Regions from separate parts of the Homo sapiens genome. Here region 2 is linked to region 1. Evidence: promoter capture Hi-C in human tissues and cell types (Jung and others, 2019). All regions are on one chromosome and are shown on one strand. The core of a region is centred on a gene start or on the middle of the fragment in contact, and the rest is flanking DNA. Distances in the headings are between cores, read along the strand shown.

Region 1 (2,856 bases), core at 246-2,745:
AATTGCGGATTAAAACTTTATTTGGCCAATGAATTCTGAGCACAATGTTTGAGGACCATATTTGCTACTGAAGCTCTGTGTGAAGGATGTGTACTTAATTTTCAGAATGTCGAGGTTAGATCATCTCTGATGGAGGCATTTTATATGAAACGTCAGCATTGGAAACATTGAGATAAAGATCGGGAGCAGGAATCTTTGAACTGCAGAATTGTGTTAATTGCTCATTCTCAAATATAGAGACGCCAATTAATTCCACACAACCTAGATTCAAAGCAGCACAGGGAAATGGTCCTGAGGTGAGTATTGTACAAAAATGAAGAAAAATAGATGTGTTCTAGCGTCCACAAAGCTGATTCTTCAACAGGCAGTAATAGAAGCCCAATGCACCCAGCGATTGGCTGATGGCATCTTTGTTCAGGCGATCGATGAGCGCCCTAACCCACACGCTGGGTGGAGAAATCCCTCTGCCACCCTCACCTTCAGAATCCACTGCTCAGCCACCTGGCTCCCGCGGGGTGCGCCACCGCCTCACTGCTGGTACACGTCTCCCCCTCTCGACCGCCAAGTGCTTGCTCCCTCCAGGCGAGCACTCACACAATGGACTCACTTGTTTCCCATGCCCCTCTCCTTTGACTTCCAGCCTCAGCGAACAACTTGAGCAAGAGTCAAACAGGAGTCTCTGCCATGGAGCATAGACCCTTGGAGCTTTCCAGACCAGCTCAGAAGCACGGGCGCACACACAGACAAAACAATGCCTTGTCCACGAATGAATAAAGGACACCCATGCCCCCACCCACCGCTCCGCAACCCGCAGAAAGAAACCCGGGACGGGGTTTCCTAAATAAGAGATTTTGTTGTGTCTTTCAAACTGCAAGCATTCCCCTTGAAGACGGCGAAAGAGAGGCTGTGCGTTCAGATGGCAATAAAGATTGACAGTGGCTTTGCCCGTGACAACGCCCCCAGCATCGCGCTGAGCCAGGTTCCCTGAGAACCGGGAGGGGGAAACGCAGATCTAGGGAGGAGGGAACAGCAGAGGCAAAGGCAGCTTGGGAGGGATGGGAAATGGAAAATCAGGGAAACAAACAAACAAACAAACAAAATGAATGAGTGAATGTGGGCTTGAATAGTAAAACTTCCAGAGAGAAGACGATGGGATCTCTCCCCAGGTAACTACCTGTAGATGAAAAATAGATGAAATACACAAGGAAGTGGCAAGCAACAACTTTGAGGTGAGCAGCAAGTTGTGCACCTCCTCTCAAGGCGCTGGATCAGCACCCCTGAGCTGCCCCCACAGCACACACTCCCAATGCGAGGCGGCGGCGGCAGCAACAGAGGCAGCAGCAGCAATCGCGGCAGCAGCGGCAGAGGCGGCGGCAGCTGCGCGCCTCGGGCCCAACCCCGCTCGGCTCCCCCTCTCGCCGGCGCCCTGCCTGTCTTGCGTGTGCGTGTGCGTGTGCTCAGCCTCAGCGTGAGGGGCACCTGCTCGTCTGGGCTCACAGCGAAGGCAGCCTCGCCGCGAGCTGCCGCTGCCGCTGCTGCCGCCACTGGTGTTGCCGCTCTCAGGCGCCAGGCTCCCCGTCGCCGCCGCCGCCGCCTCGCCAGCCAGAGTTGGGCTCCGTGGGCTTCCCCCCTCGCAGCCTCGGTCCTTCCCCGCTGCCTGCAAGTCAGCCTGGCTCCGAGTCACGTGTCAGTGCCTGAGGCAGAGACTGCGAGAAAAAAACGCGCTTCATTCCTTCTTCCACCGCCATACTGTATTTTATACTAAATCTCATTTTTATTCCAACATTTTACTCCCGCTCGGTGAGTACCTTCTCAGTGGCATTCTTGTCCTATTCTTTTTTTTGTCCTTTTTTTTGGTTTTTTGTTTTTTTTGTTTTTGTTTTTTTTCTTTTTTTCCACTTCTTTGATTATTGTTTATATTTGGGAAAGCTGGAGGAGCATGGTTTTGAGCCTTTTCCTGAATCCAAGTTTTTCTAGCATGCGATCGTTCTGTAGACAAGGCGCTGTGTCTCGGAGTCCGCGGCGACCGTGCCCGCTGGGAGCGTCTCCCAAGTCCAGCAAAATGTGCAACTGGTTTTATGGAAAAAGCGATGTGAAGTATGGTGCCTATTTTTTTCCTTTGTAAAAATAAAAAGCATGTTTCTAACTCTTTTTTTGCATACTCTTTTTCTGATAACATTTTTGTATAGGTGGGATTTTACGGCAGTGTTTACAAGTTTGTGGTCTTGCAATACTGGTGCAAACCACTGAGCAAAGACATTAATTTTATATTTTTTGTGCCCTTTTTGGAAGCCGGTGAAAACAAATTCGTTTTTTTTCCCTCCTGTTTTTGATACCCATTGATAACATGAAACTTTTCTTACAGCTGGTGATTGGGATCATTTTTAAGCAAAATACTTTTTTCCTCCTTTAAATTAACTATGACTTTTGCACATTTGACTTTTTTAAAAAACCGAGATAATTTTATGATAGATATCCTGATATCTATATCTATATTGTCCCTTATTTCTCCCCCTTCCCTCCCCGTAAATCAATTTTCAAATGATGGCAGTGGAAGGTTTTTCTGGAAAAAAAAAAATGAAGTGCGGTTTGGTTTCCTTGTCAACGGAGGATGAAGTGAACAGCTGAGCAGCTCGCAGAGAGCAGGTACTTGGTCCCCTTGGAGGCGTTTCCCGGGTGTGCAGTGGCAACACTGGTCCTAGCAAAGAAATGTGTGAGTGTGAGTGTGTGTGTGTGTCTGTGTTTGCGCGCGCGCATCTCCGGGCAGTGTCCGAGCCCGAGGTGGGGAGAGCGGCGCAGGGAGCCAGGGAAAACCAAAGTCCGTTCCCTGCTTCAGGATCGTTTTCTAGATGTGCG
Region 2 (2,856 bases), core at 185-2,684, 53 kb before region 1:
TTTAAATAAGCAGCTCCTTCCGAATGTTTTATTGTTGAAGGGGAGGGGTGGCTAATTTGTTGTGTTTTATGTCATTGAAAATTAGTTGTTATGTACTTTTTTCTTGCATATTTTTGAATTGGTTCCTAAATGTGACAGGGTCAAGAATAAATGCATACATTATTTTTTAATTATTGCTCAGTTTTTCTCTGTAGAGGTTATATTATTGTTTATTCCCACCAACAATAGGAAGGCTTTAATTCCCCCACAACTTTCCTATCAGGGAATATTGTCAAATTTTTGCATGGTTTTCAAACTAATAGATAATAAGTGGTATTCCAATATAGTTCAAATTTATATTTCTTTTATTAGGCATAATTAGTTTATTTTCAGATGCTGAAAGGACATTTTTATTTCCTCTTCTGTTAAGTATTTTTGTTGTCAGCAGCTTTTGAAACCCTTGATCACTACCTCTTTGATAAAATACTTTTTTCCTTTCACTTCCAAGACAGACCACTCACCTTGCCTCTCCTCTCCTTCATGACCCATTCTTCTCTCCTCTCTCCACCAGGTGATTCTTCTCTTACCGATCTCTAAATATCAGGTAGTCCCAAAACTCAGTATTTGAACATCTTTTGTCCATCTATATTCACTCATTGGGGAATTTCATCCTGTCTTGTGGCCTTAAAATACCATCTACACACTCATGGCAATTCCCAGATATATACTTTTAGACCCTAACATTCCCCTAAATAATATAAAAATATGTAATTGACCGCTTGACGTTTTCTTCAATATTAAACCATACACTTCTTCACTCTCACACCTTAGGGTGAACCGCTCCTGTTATCCCTCCTCTTCCTGCCTCTTTTGCTGTAATTGCTCAAGCCAAACTGCTTAGAGTCATCAAGAACTCCTCTTTCTCTCTCAGACTCCACTTCTAATCCAGAAACACATTTAGTTAGCCCTACCAAAATCTGGCCATTTTATCACCATCTACATCATTACAATTCCAGCCTGAGATACCACCATCACTCTCTTTGAATTTGTCAATAGCCCTCTGGCTGGTCTTCCTGTTTTTATGTTATTCTAGCTTTCACCTTGTCTTCTTGCCATACAGCATCCAGAATGATCCTTTTAAAATATGTCAGATTAAATCCAACAATTTCATCTCTGGATATATGCTCAAAAGAATTGAAGACAGGGTTGTGAAGACCTGTTCATAGCAGCCATAGCCAATAGGTAGAAGCTTATTGTCAAATGTCCACCTACAGATGAATGGATAAACAAAATGTAATATATACATGCAATGGAATATTATTTAGCTTTAAAAAGGAGGAAATTCTGATATATGCTACAGTATGCATGAACCTTGAGGATATTATGCTAAGTGAAATAAACCCCTCACAAAAAGACAAATATGATTCCACTTATGTGAGGTATCTAGAGTAGCCAAACTACTCTAGACATGAGATATCTAGGCGTATCTAAAAATGGAAAGTAGAATGCTGGTTGCCAGGAGTTAGATGCGGTGGAAAATTGAGAGTAATTGTTTAACGAGTATAAAGTTTCGATTTTGCAAGATGAAAAAGTTCTGGAAATTGGTTGCACAACACTGTGAATGTACTTAACACTACTGAACTGTAGACTCAAAAATAGGATGGTAAATTTTATGTTTTATGCATTTTAACCATAATTTTAAAAAATAATAAATTAAAAAATATGTCAGATCATGAGGTAGATCTTCTTCAAACCCACCCATAAATGTCCTTTTCACTCAGAATAAAGTCCAGAATTCATATCAGAACCTTCAAAATGTTATATGATCTGCACATCTCTGCCCACCACCCACCCCTGACCTCATCTTCTACTAGTCAGTCTTTGTCTCAATTTGCCATTGTTTTCCCACTGATCCTTGAGCTAGTCAAAAGTGTTTCTCACTTGGGTCCTTCACACGTGATGTTTTCTGAGATATTTATATGACTCCATTTCCCCTCTTCAGAGAAGCATTTCCTGTCTACCCTATTTAAAAAGAACGCTCTTCTCATCAGTTGTCAGCTCCTTACTTGGTTTATTTTTTTTCATATCCCTTAACAACACTTAATATATAGTATTTCATTTTTGTACTATTTTCCTCTCCCTATGAGAATATAAACCAAAAAACTATTTAATGTCCTATGGTCAATCAAAAAGTCTTATAAAAATTTATGATTGGCTGGGCTCAGTGGCTCACGCCTGTAATCCCAGCACTTTGGGAGGCCGAGGCGGGTGGATCACGAGGTCAGGAGATCAAGACGGTTAATACGGTGAAACCTCGTCTCTGCTAAAACTACAAAAGATTAGCCGGGCTTTGTGGCGGGCACCTGTAGTCCCAGCTACTCAGGAGACTGAGGCAGGAGAATGGCGTGAATCCAGGAGGCGGAGCTAGCAGTGAGCCGAGATCGCACCACTGCCCTCCAGCCTGGGCGACAGAGCAAGACTCCAACTCAAAAAAAAAAAAAAAATTGTGATTAACTGGTGAGGGAAGAAGAGGAGAGTAGAGGCAAGGTGATTGGGCTGTCTTGGAAGTTAAATGAAACAAGTATTTTATCAAAGAGGTAGTGATCAGTTTCTGCAAAACGAAAAAAAAAACCAAATATTTTACTTTTTACACAGTACTATTACATTTCCAGCAGCAGAATAGTGTCTGATACATAACTGAAGCTTGACAAATAATTGTTAAATAAATGAATAAGTAGATGAATAAATTGTATAAATTAAGTGTTCCAATTCCTGGTACAATTATATTTTTCAAAATATATATTTTTCAAATTTATATTCTGATATGGGAGGCTTTGTTTAAAGCTACAAATAGACATATTGGTTTCAAGTGCTGAT

The links. The method cuts DNA at HindIII sites, captures the fragments that hold promoters and counts their contacts. A contact is called where the count stands out against the background at its distance.
Region 2: a contact is called between a fragment that was not itself captured here and the fragment with the promoter of RALYL in region 1, in 1 of the 25 tissues and cell types used here (ovary).

Annotation. Positions count from the first base shown.
Region 1 is chr8:84,181,779-84,184,634 of GRCh38, forward strand. It overlaps RALYL (RALY RNA binding protein like), which reads left to right and starts at 1,496. Exons shown (of 9, transcript NM_173848.7): 1 at 1,496-2,646. The HindIII fragment of the contact is 16,405 bases long and covers 1-2,856 here.
Region 2 is chr8:84,129,234-84,132,089 of GRCh38, forward strand. No RefSeq gene overlaps it. Among named protein-coding and RNA genes, the nearest start is that of RALYL, 53 kb to the right of the region's middle. The HindIII fragment of the contact is 3,818 bases long and covers 1-2,856 here.